2 separate regions of the Homo sapiens genome follow, and region 1 is linked to region 2. Evidence: promoter capture Hi-C in 16 types of primary human blood cells and fetal thymus (Javierre and others, 2016). All regions are on one chromosome and are shown on one strand. The core of a region is centred on a gene start or on the middle of the fragment in contact, and the rest is flanking DNA. Distances in the headings are between cores, read along the strand shown. Region 1 overlaps WDR73 (WD repeat domain 73). Region 2 holds the start of ZSCAN2 (zinc finger and SCAN domain containing 2).

What was found. Contacts are between HindIII fragments. The CHiCAGO score rates a contact against its expected background, and 5 or more counts as called.
Region 1: a fragment that was not itself captured here is called in contact with the fragment with the promoter of ZSCAN2 in region 2 in 1 of 17 cell types (naive CD4 T cells); the score reaches 6.1 in naive CD4 T cells.

What each region holds. Positions count from the first base shown.
Region 1 is chr15:84,633,375-84,639,465 of GRCh38, reverse strand. WDR73 (WD repeat domain 73) reads left to right here. Exons shown (of 8, transcript NM_032856.5): 8 at 1-181. It also overlaps the pseudogene SCAND2P and the pseudogene EGLN1P1. Among named protein-coding and RNA genes, the nearest start is that of WDR73, 18 kb to the left of the region's middle. RefSeq lists silencers at 5,179-5,258, 5,729-6,078. The HindIII fragment of the contact is 2,378 bases long and covers 1,379-3,756 here.
Region 2 is chr15:84,599,616-84,605,719 of GRCh38, reverse strand. It overlaps ZSCAN2 (zinc finger and SCAN domain containing 2), which reads right to left and starts at 4,711. Exons shown (of 3, transcript NM_181877.4): 1 at 4,585-4,711; 2 at 1,387-1,900. The coding sequence starts at 1,792. It overlaps LOC105370947 (a long non-coding RNA gene), which reads left to right. Exons shown (of 4, transcript NR_186225.1): 3 at 1,735-1,860; 4 at 5,917-6,104. RefSeq lists enhancers at 1,668-2,296, 4,814-4,863 and a silencer at 4,344-4,493. The HindIII fragment of the contact is 3,007 bases long and covers 4,091-6,104 here.

The DNA of each region.
Region 1 (6,091 bases), core at 1,318-3,817, 36 kb before region 2:
ATCTAATCCCAACCATTTTATATGCCAGGGAGAGGAGATAGTAATTTTTTTTTTTTAATTCTGGGGGGATTCTTGGGAAAGCTCAGTGAAAAGAACAACTAGAAAAAAAAATTCAGGCCCAAATGCATAACTATATATCCACGTTCATCTATCTTAAATAAAATTCAGACACATACCTAAACTGACCATCTCCCTAAAATGAGCTTTCCTTTCTGGGTCAAGAAATTCATCCTTGGTGAAACTGACTATGGTATTGGATTTCCTTTGAGTAAGATTTAAGGAAGAAATAGATTTGAAATATTCAACCCAGGGGGAAAGGGTGGGAGCAGGGGGGTGAGGGATAAAAGACTACACACTGGGTACAGACTGAGGGGATAAAAGACTGCACACTGGGGCCCCGTGGTGGCTCAGGCCTGTAATCCCAGCACTTTGGGAGGCCGAGGCAGGCAGATTACTTAAGGTCAGGAGTTCAAGACCAGCCTGGCCAACATGGTGAAACCCCATCTCTGCCAAAAAAAAAAAAAAAAAATACAAAAATTAGCTGGGCGTGGTGGCACATCTCTGTAATCCCAGCGACTCAGGAGGCTGAGGCAGGAGAATCACTTGAACCCGGGAGGCAGATGTTGCAGTGAGTCAAGATCATACCACTCCACTCCAGCCTGGGTGATAGAATGAGACTCAGTCTCAAAAAAAAAAAAAAGAAAAAAACAAAGACTACACATTGGGTACAGACTTGATGGATAAAAAAGACTACCCTTGGGTGATGGGTGCACCAAAATCTCAGAAATCACCACTGAAGAACTTTTCCATGCAACCAAACACTACTTGTTCCCCAAACACTACTGAAATAAAAGTTTAAAAAAAATACGTAAGAACAGACATAGGGAAAAAGAAAAAAAATTCAACTTGAAAAAGGTCTGGAGTAGTGAATACTACAGAAACTCCATAGCTAACTTTGACTATGAAAAAAAAAAAAAGGCATTCTTACCCAGCGTGACCTCATTTTCAGAATTCTGCTGAGTTATTTCTAGGTGGTTCTTCAGTCCAGGTTCTGGATCCCTCCATGCCTCCTAGGAGATATACACAGCCGAATCACCAGGTGTCACTAGCTCCTGAGGAAACAACACCCCTTCTCAAAACACATGGCCTCAGAACAAAATGCCTCTCTAATGCCTGAGTCAGGGCAAGTGACACAACAGAAGAAATGAAACAGTGATTATTTTGGCTTTTAAATGCAATCAAGCGGGCAGGAGGAGACAGAAAAGAAACAAGCTGACATTATGCACTGAGCCAGAAGCTTCTCAGACTTGCCCAGAGTTACACAGCAAGTCCAGGGTATGGCTGGGAATTCAACTCAAGGCTGTTGGACTCTGAAGCTTTTGGTTTTTGTTTTTTTTCCTCCACTACACAGTACTGCATGCCATGTGAGCAAGATCCCGACACAGAATGAAGTAACCAGTATCTTTAAGGCAAACAAGCAGATCAGTAGAATCTGATGATTTCAGGGTCAAAGAAAAGAATAATTTTAATGCAATCCCTCATTACCACAGCCATGGCACTGGCCTCATATGGGTAAGGAGATTTGGGCAACCTTTTGCAGGCTGATGAAATTTTGGAGCCTAAATTGTAAAGTTACTGGGCCTCCCTGCTGGGTAAAATTCTTTTGGAATTTCTGAGCGGCAAGAGAGTTGGTTGCAGGAGCCCCACTTGGGTAGTAAAAGGTGACCTGAGGGGGATTGGGGGCTAGGGGAGGGAGAGCATTAGGAGAAATACCTAATGTAGACGATGGGTTGGTGGGTGCAGCAAACCACCATGGCACGTGTGTACCTATGTAACAAACCTGCATGTTCTGCACATGTACCCCAGAACTTAAAGTATAATAAAAAGAGAAAATTTAAAAAAAAAGAAATATAATCTGTAAAGACAAATGACTTAATCGTTTTCCCAAAAGGAGAAAACTGAGCTGTGCCTCAAGAGTTATATTTCTATTAAAAAAAAAAGAGAGAGAGAAAAGGTGATCTATATAAGAGAAATGGCTGACTCACCTGGGAGCTGCTCACTATCTCCTGGCCACCCCTGCTCTTCTCTGCAGGAATTCCCAGAGCCACATCAGGCAGGGCTGGGGGAAGAAAAGGGAGGCATTAGAGTACATGGCTCTCAGCTCCTCTTGGGGACTAGCCCAACTGGGTTCAGACACAGAACAGCCTTTCCTCCCCCTCTTAGTATCTGCTTTGTCCTATCAAAGGAAGGTTGGTGAAAAACCAAAATGAAACATTTCTTTTTTTTTTTTTTTTTGAGACGGAGTCTCACTCTGTCGCCCAGGCTGGAGTGCAGTGGCACAATCTCAGCTCACTGCAAGCTCCGCCTCCCAGGTTCAGGCCATTCTCCTGCCTCAGCCTCCTGAGTAGCTGGGACTACAGGTGCCCACCACCACACCCGGCTAATTTTTTGTATTTTTAGTAGAGACGGGGTTTCACTGTGTTAGCCAGGATGGTCTCGATCTCCTGACCTCATGATCCGCCCGCCTCTGCCTCCCAAAGTGCTGGGATTACAGGCGTGAGCCACCATGCCCAGCCAAAATGAAACGTTTCTAAAATGAAAGTTTTAGGTTTTCCCCTCCATATCCATCTAGGTACTGACTGTCAGGGTTTTATGATTTTGTTTTTCAGGTTTTTTGTTTGCTTTTTGTTTTTTTGAGACAGGGCCTCGATCTGTCGCCCAGGCTGGAGTGCAGTGGCGTGACCTTGGCTTACCGCAGCCTTAACCTCCTGGGCTCAGGTGATCCTCCCACCTCAGCCTTCTGAGTAGCTGGGACTACAGGTGCCTGCCACCATGCCCGGCTAATTTTTTTTTTTTTTTTTTTTGTATTTTTAGAGGAGACGGAGTTTCACCATATTGCCCAGGCTCATCTCTGAACTCCTGGGCTCAAGCAATCCACCCACCTCAGCCTCCAAAGTACTGGAATTACAGGCATGAGCCACCATAACTGGCCTTGTTTTTCAGTTTTGATAACACACCTGAGTCATCTAAATTGGTCTGGGGACACTTAACTGTTTTAAGGATTACTGCACCTTAGTTTAACCCTACCCTTTTGCCCTTCCCACCAACCAGACCTAAAATCTGTCTCCAACTGTAACCTATTGGGACCGGTAATCTCTGACTCACATAAGGAAAGGTGCTACAGGCTCCCCTATGTTGTTTTACAAAACATGCCAACCGAGGTCCTTCTTCACTTTGGAGGTGCCCATTTAGGATCCCAGAAATTCATGCGGTCAGCCTGAGGTCAACACACCAATCTTCTAAGTAGAAGGGAGCTGTACCTTCTACCCCACTTTCTGCACTCACAGAGTACTTCTATGCCCTCCCCACAGAAGGGTACTTCCTTCCTCCCCACACTGCTGCTACTTTTTTTTTTTTTAAATCTGATTTTGCACTTTTTTTTTTTTCTAAGCTAAACATCTTTCAGTACAGGTAAGAAGACTGGCATCACATCTGGGAAGTGCCTTAACAGATATCTGAGGAGTTACTGCACATTAAGTCGGTAACAACACACTTCGGTTTCAAGGCGTATGTAATCTTCCCTTGATGCTCTTCAACAGAGACAAGGTTCCTGTCTGTAGATCAAATAAATCACAGTATTAGGAAAAAAAATAACAGCAAATTTGGAAGTACAATCAACTTAAGGAGAAGCAAAGGAAAAGACTTAGAAATGGGACATTATTGTCTACATCTAGAGGATACATGTATCTGAAAGCTTAAGAAAGCCCTTATCTTAGGAACTTGAAGCTGAGGATAATCTCAAGTTCACTTAGTGCCAGTCACTTTAGTTTTTAAAAAAATTTAACTTAAACCCCAGCCTAGGCAACATGGTGAAACCCAGTCTCTACTAAAAATACAAAAATTAGCCAGGCATGGTGGTATGTGCCTGTAGTCCCAGCTAGTTGTGAGGCTGAGGCGGGAGGATTGCTTGAACCTGGGAGACAGTGGGGTTGCAGTGAGCTGAGAATGCACCACTGCACTCCAGCCTGGGTAACAGAGCAAGACTCAAAAAAAAAAAAAAAATTAAACTCTTCTTATTGTGTCTTTTTCCTTGTAAGACATTAACTAAAAGTTACTGGTAGTAAATGGTGACTGTTTTACAATTGGGTTTCATTATTGACAATATCAAAAAAAAGCAGCAATCTTTAAGAGTTCAAATTAGTGTAAGATAGGAAGGACTGCAAAACAATCTGATTTTTCAGTTGTAATTAAAGTGCTCCTTTTCTTATTTTAAGTAAAATAAAATTAATCAGTCACTGGCAACAATCATTATTAAGAGGTCTTTTAGGGCAAAATTTAATAGTATGAAGAGGTTTACAAAAATAGATTGACGTTATTTTGAGAAATACTGTAATTTTTTCTCAATTCAGTTTTGATAAATTGTACCTAATCATAGAAAAATTATTCCAATTCAAACTTGACATATATTAAAAAAGTAGAGATGAAATTAACTCAGCTACGTAACAGATCTGGCAAAATATAAGAATGAAAAAAATTCTACACAGGGCACTTATTTCATATCCAGAGGTAAAAACATTTTCTATTAGTAGCTTATCTTCTTCCTGTAAGCAATCACAGATTCTAAGTTGATCATGCGGTACAAAGTCACAGCAGTCAGAATCTTCTGTTTGATGCAACACACAAAGTTGTTTGTTTCCTTACTAAAATGCGAACTGGTTGTCTATTTTTCTTTATCCCATTTATTCGTATTCACAAATTAACAAATAGCGTCAACAATTATTGTAGGTGAAGTGGGGTATTGCTGGATCAAAGGCTCTATAAGACGTCTTTACTGACTGAATCTGAAGGTTTATTGAGTTCAATCCTCACACCTTTTTCACCTGTTAGATATTTTACTTTAGCTCGTGCTCTCTCATCTGCATCAAATACCAAACAGTTATTGCGTACTTTGTAGCATATGCTGGTTGTACTTCATGAGGGTTGCGATGGTCAGACCAGAAAAACAGCAGTCTATCAAATTTGGGTTCAATGTCAGCAAACTAGGCTTTACCTTCTAGAAAAATTCGAAGTATACCTCCACTTACCTTGGCATCCCGTTCTTTAACGTAATGTAATACATTTCACACGTCTTCCGTCTCCATTTGGATTATCAACATGACGTACATAACCCGTTCCATTGACCGGATAACAAGCAGCCATGGCTTTTGTCCGGCCCGGGGACGCGCGAGGCGGGGACGCGGCCGCCGCGGGGTCGGCCGCGGACTTGGCCTTTGCCTTGGCTGCGTCCCCGGAGGCGCTGTCCCGGCGCCTCGCTGCCTTCCTGGCCTCCAGGGCCCGGTCCCTGGACGGCGGCGCTGCAGCGGGCGGCGCGGGGCCGGAGTCCTGGTGAGGGCCCCCTCCGTGGCCGAGGGCGCCCTCGCTGCCCTGGCACACGAGCTTGTGCTTCTTCCAGTCCTGGCGCTGGCGCTCCTTGCAGCAGAAGGAGCTGCGGCTGCAGCGCAGCAGGTTCTCCATCTTCCCGCACAGCTCGCAGTACTGCCGGTCTCGCTCGCTCGAGCTCGGCTCGCCGGGCCCGCAGCTGTCATTGGCCATGGCGACCGCAGCTGAGCAGGAGGGGTGCGGCCGGACGGCCTCGCCCGAGGCTGGGGAGCGGAGAGAGAGATAGGGGCCGTCACTGCGCCATGCACCCGCTACCCTTGACTCAAGGAGGCTGGCACCCAGGGCCCTCGGCCGGGTCGCTTCCGAGTCCTAGGCTCCGGCGCAGCGCAGGCGGCCGCCTCAGCGCCTAATCGCCGCCGTGGGCTGAGAGAACGCGGCCTGTGCGGCGAACGGCAACCCGGGCTCGGGCGCGCGAGCCTGCGGAGCGCAAGACCGGCCCCCTCGGCTGCCGCCACCGCCTCAGCGTCCCGGGCGGCCCGGCCCAGGCTGCGGAGGAGCGCAGGGTAAGCGGGTGCCGCTCGCTCTGCGCATTCTGCACGTACACCACGGTACGGCGGCGACCCGGCCGTGCGGCGCGCGTGGGCCCACACTGCGATTTCTTATCACTCTTGCGGACGGGCTAGAGTTCGTTCTATTTTGGGGCTGTGCTTCA
Region 2 (6,104 bases), core at 3,462-5,961:
GCCTCTCACTACCCTAATCAAACCTACATCCTGTTGCCAAACTCCGCTTCCTTCCATGCCCCTTGGGGGTCTAGTTCAAGAACCCACTGAGGCAAAACATTCAGTCCAAGCCCTCACCCACCCTTCCCCCAAACTCTACTTCCTACCACTTCCTAAAAACACACTTGCCACTCCAATCTGCCAGCTCTCCTGTCACCCAAAGGTATAAACCACCGTGGCTCTGCCCTTCCAAGCCTCTGCTCAGCACAGCTCCTCTCAGCTGCCACACCCTACTCCCTTCTACAACCTCCTGCTTAGGTGTCACCTCCTCCAGGAAGCCTTCTCTGACCTGACCTTTCCTCTCCACGCTCCCTTCTCTGAACTTCCGTAGTTTTCATCAGCACAAAGGCAGCCATATCCTTCGAGCCCTGAGACAGCCCTCAAGGCACATCTGAAGTAAACATTTGGTCATCAAGTGAGTCTACTTTACAATGGAAAACCAGGAGGGAGACAGCGGTTAAACGGCAAGCCAGAATCCCAATACTTATTAGTAACACCGGAAAAAAATAGAGTAACTATTGCAAAGAGCTCAAGTTTGAAATTACGATTTTAAGAGCCCAGGATTACTTTATACCACAGAAAGTCCCTAGTTATTAGCTGGTTTACTTGTCATTTCTCTTGGTTTCATAAAAATAACCACTTTGGGGCCAGGCGTGGTGACTCACGCCTGTAATCCCAGCACTTTCGGGGGCTGAGGTGGGCGGATCACGAGGTTAGGAGCTTGAGACCAGTCTGGCGAACATGGTGAAGCCCCATCTCTACGAAAAATAAAAAAATTAGCCGGGCGTGGTGGCGCACGCCTGTAATTCCAGCTACTCAAAAGGCTGAGGCAGGAGAACTGCTTGAACCCAGAAGACGGAGGTTGCAGTGAGCCAAGATTGTGCCACTGCACCCCAGCCTGGGTGACAGAGCGAGACTCCGTTTCAAAAAAAAAAAAAAAAAGAAAAAAGAAAAAAAAGTCATGTTGAAAATATCAGATTGTTTTCTCTAATTGCAAGAACCATTTGGATGTTTCTTGCACAACCACGTGAAGGTGCCAGGGGTCTCCATCTCCTCCCGTTTAACTTCCATCACCTTCCCAACCACTCCAAATAAACACAGAAGTAAAAACTGTGCTTACAATTCAAATGTAGCTCTAAGGCCCTCCTAGCACTTCTGGAGCTGACTTTGCACACAGTGAGGACACTAAAAGGCTGATGAACACGCTGACTGCCTGCAGACAGAGCAGAGGGATGGCGCTAGCCCCCCACTCTGCCTTGGACACCACCTTCTCCTCCTCCGAAACACCACACTCCTCTACCTTGGAAGGGTGCTCCCGCCCTCTCCCTATGAGGTTCTGCGTCTCACCACTGTCCTGAAGGGTCTGGGTCAAGTCTTCCACCAGGGCCGCTGCCTCCTCACTGCTTTCAGGCCGATGCTCTTGCAGCCAAGCCTGAATTTCCTTTGGCAGCATGGTTAACATCTGCTCCTTGGTGTGTACCTCTGGTCTCAGCCAGCGCCGGCAGAGCTCTCGGAGGCGGCCGAGTGCACCCTGTGGTCCCCTGGTCACCTCCTCCTGGGGGCCGCCCTTGCCAGCACTCTGGGGAAAGGGCTCAGACTCAGGGCCATCCTCCTGCAGCACAGCTTCTTGCACCCAGGAGTCATCCTCCAGGATCATGGTGGTGACCTCCTCCTCCTGTCTATCTTCCTCTTGAGGCACCTGGACCAAGGAGCTCAGCGGAGTGGTCACTCTCGGGATGTCTGCAGCCATCATCCACAGTCCTGGGGCAATCACTTAGGCTTCAAGCCTTGGACCTCAGTCTTCTCCAGCCAGGCTCTCAGGTAAGACACTTCCCTCCTCAAATATCAACAAGTAGTCCCGCTGAGAAACAAAAAAGAGAACCATAATCCATAGGTAGACTGTCCTAAAGCAATCTAACTCACAAAAGCCCAGGTCAGACCACCAAGTGGCCCTTACATATGCAAACCAACAGACGTTTCCTGTTCTTCTTAAAGAAAAAATGGCTTATTCCTGAAAACATCTCTCTGTGGTAAAAGAAGGCTGGGTGCAGTGTCTCATGCCTGTAATCCCAGCACTTTGGGAGGCCGAGGTGGGCGGATCACCTGAGGTATGGTGAAACCCCATTTCTATTAAAAATACAAAAATTAGCCGGGCGTGGTGGCGGGGGCCTGTAGTTCCTGCTACTTGGGAGGCTGAGGCAGGAGAATCTCTTGAACCCAGGAGGCGGAGGTTGCAGTGAGCACAGATCTCGCCACTGCACTCCAGCCCAGGCAACAGAGTGAGACTCCGTCTCAAAAAAAAAAAAAAAAAAGTATCCCAAGCACAAAAAATACAGCATTGTTCCTTCCAAAACACCAAAGAATGAGTATCAGAAATGCAAAGTCCCCGGGAAAAACCCATGACTGAAATACTGAGGACTCTCCTAAGTCAGTTTCGACTTGCACTGTGTGACCTTGACCTAACATACAACTTAGTCACCAAACTCGGTGACCACCTAATAAAGATAATAACACTCATGTTTCTGTTTTTATGGGGGCATCTTAAGGATCAGCAATGGATCAGATGTCAAAGCACTCTGAGCTTCTTTGGAAGAAAGGCAATATCTCAACTGCATTATTACCATACTTTAAGTATGAAGTTTAAAACATGCATATACTCTCCAATCCAGCCTCGGCCCCTCAGTACTTTATCTTAAAAAAATAACCAAAAAATCGAGTCCTTAAAAATCCAGCAGCAGGGAATGGCTAATAAACTATGACACACCCATATAGCAGCATGTATTAGAAACTGTGCTATAGGCTTGGCGTGGTTGCCTGTAATCCCAGCACTTTGGGAGGCCTCGGCAGGCGGATCACTTGAGGTCAGGAGTTCGAGACCAGCCTGGCCAATATAGTGAAACCCCGTCTCTACCAAAAATACAAAAATTAGCCAGGCATGGTGACGGGCGCCTGTAATCCCAGCTACTCAGGAGGCTGAGGCAGGAGAATTGCCCGAACCTGGGAGGAGGAGGTTGCAGTGAGCCGAGATCGTGCCACTGCACTCCAGTCTGGGCGAAAGAGCCAGACTCTGTCTCAAAAAAAAAAAAAAAAAAAGAAAAGAAAAGGAAAAAAAAGAAAAGAAACTGTGCTATAATAATGGCTACCTTTAGGTGGTAATGACAGGAAAGGGGCTCAAAGGAGCCTTCTGGGATGATGGAAATTTTCAATATCTTCATTTGGCAATGGCGGCACAAGAGCAAACATATGAAATTTAAGATCTGCACATTACGCTGTATGTTTTTAATATTTTAAAAATTATATTGACAAAGATTAATCATTAATGATTTAAGATAATCCTTCTGATAGGAAAATAATGGATAAACACAAAATCAGCAGGGCAGAAAAACCATAGACACAGTAAGTCCTCAATTCCCTTTAAAAATGAACTCACAGCCGGGCGCGGTGGCTCAGACCTGTAATCCTAGCACTTTGGCAGGTTGAGGCGGGCGGATCACCTGAGGTCGGAAGATCGAGACCAGCCTGACCAACACGGAGAAACCTCGTCTCTACTAAAAACAAAATTAGCCAGGCGTGGTGGCGCATGCCCGTAATCCCAGCTACTCCGGAGGCTGAGGCAGGAGAATCGCTTGAACCCGGGAGGCAGAGGATGCGGTGAGCGGAGATCAGGCCATTGCACTCCAGCCTGGGCAACAAAAGCAAAACTCCGTCTCAAAAAAAAAAAAAAAAAAAAATGAACTCACAGGAAAAAAGAACGGGACGGCACCTACAAAATATTGAAAGCAGTGGAATTGCAAACGACTTAAAATATTATAAAAGCAATACAAAATTATTTTTAGCCCAAGCGCTGTAGCTCACGCCTGTAATTCCAGCACTTTGGGAGGCCGAGGAGGGAAGATGGCTTGAGGCCGGGAGTTCATGACCAACCTGGGCAACAGAGTGAGACCCAGTCTCTACAAAAATAAAAAAATTTTTTAAAAAATCATTACTACATCATAAAGACTCAACTAACAACCCTCCCTCAATGAAAAGGGGAGAAAAGCTGACAAAAGCTTAAAAAAAAAAGGACAAAAAATAAAAGCTAGTGGGAAAACCGAAGCTCTCAACGTGTATTTACTCAAATGACTAGAAGAAATACTGGCATATGGTGTAAGAGAACTCTTCCTACTTGGGAGCCTGGGAAAAGTGTGCCAGGTCAGCTAATTTGCGGTCTGACTTGGGGCACGACACGCCCCCTCTGAACCTCAGTTTCCCCATCTGTAAAACGTGTACGCTGCGCGGGATGTCGTCGAATGCCCCTTCCCGTCCAAAGCCTGCGCTTCTCGGTAGGAGAGGCAAGGAGCTCTCCGCCAGGGAGACGCGTCCGGGACGGTTCGCTGAGCGGAGCCGGCGCGTAAATCGGGGCTGCAGGGCCCGCAGGATACGGAGCGCGACCCCGACGCCCCTCCCCCAGCAGAGCTGCCGGCAGCTGGCTCCAGGCCCACTATTCCCTCACCTCGGGCTACTGCCCGGGGTCCGCGTGGCTCCAGGCCTGCCTCTCCGGCTCACCTCTCGGGAGACCAGGTCCTGCTCTAGCGGTTGCTTCGCGTGCGAAAGCGCCCCCGGGCTCGGCCCGGCCCCTCCAGATTCACCCCGGCTCAAGCCCGTGGGGCACCGAGAACAATGGACGGGAGAGGCCCGCCCACCGCCGCGCTCATTGGCTGCCGAGAACGGCCCTGGAAATTCTGCCTTTCTGTTGGTGGAGACGGCACCCAGCCGGGCGGCAGGAGGGAGGCTGGGCCCAAGGCATTGTGGGAGATGTAGTCCGCCCGGAGACGAACCTGACCGCGGTCCCCGGAGTAGGGTTTGGGGCTGACAGCCTGGGCAGTGCCTGCGGACCAGAGGCAGGAAAATCCGCAGACTGACCGTCAGAAACCCTGTGTTGGCTAGAGCTGTAACCCGAGACAAGCCGTTTCACTTATCTAAGGCCTCTGTATATTTGTCTATAAAAAGTGAAAGTTGGATGGCCGGACTTGAAGGACCTTTTCGGCTGCGAACCTTGTGGCAAGGAGTATTGTTAGGCACCCTCGACCGGCGAGAGCGGACCCTGGGCAGGAAGGGAATCCATGGGGGAACAAATCCTCATCGCCCAAGCCTGGCGCCTTTCCCCCAGTTTGCAGCTGTACACATGCACCCGGTCTTCGCACACCCCTTTGTTTTCGCACGTGGTATTCCTGTGTTTGGAGGAACGCCCTGCCCCGCCTCCTCTGCCGCGGAACTCCCATTCTTCCAGCTTCTCCTGGGTGGAGCCTGCCCTGTCATCACCACCTCCCCAGGCAGAGACACCGCCCCTAGTACACGTGTTGGACGTCCCCATTTTATTTTTTAAATATATATATGTATGTATTTGTATATATATATATATATTTATTTATACACACACACTCACAGACAGGATCTACATTTCATAGAGACAGGGTTTCCATATGTTGCCCAGGCTGACCTCGAACCCCTGGGCTCAAGCGATCCTTCCTCCTCAGCCTCCCAAAGTGCTGGAATTACAGGTGTGAGCCACCGCACCTGGCTGACGTCTCCATTTTAGTACTGATCACCGGGTTGCTTACTTGTCAATCTCAGTATGGGGGAAGGGAGGGTGCCCGGGTGTGGGAGGTTGGCCTCCATCTTTGTGTTTTACGGCTGGCGCTGTTGAAGAAACGGCTGCCCCAACCCTGCTTGAAAACAGGTGAGAAACTACCTGGAAACTCAAGCGGAAAATCTAAAAATGGAGAGAGACACCCTTAATGGTCTGTGATAGAATAGTTATGTATGTTTGCACTGAGCAATTACTGGAGGCACCTGCAATGAAATGACTGCTTTTTTTTTTCCTCCTCTGTCGCCCAGGCTGGAGTGCAGTGACACGATCTCGGATCAAGTGATTCTCCTGCCTCAGCCTCCCAAGTAGCTGGGATTACCGGCGTGCGCCACCACACCTGGCTAATTTTGCGTGTTTTTAGTAGAGACAGAGATTTCACCATGTTGATCAGGCTGGTCTTGAATTCCTGACCTCAGGTGATCCAGCCGTCTTGGCC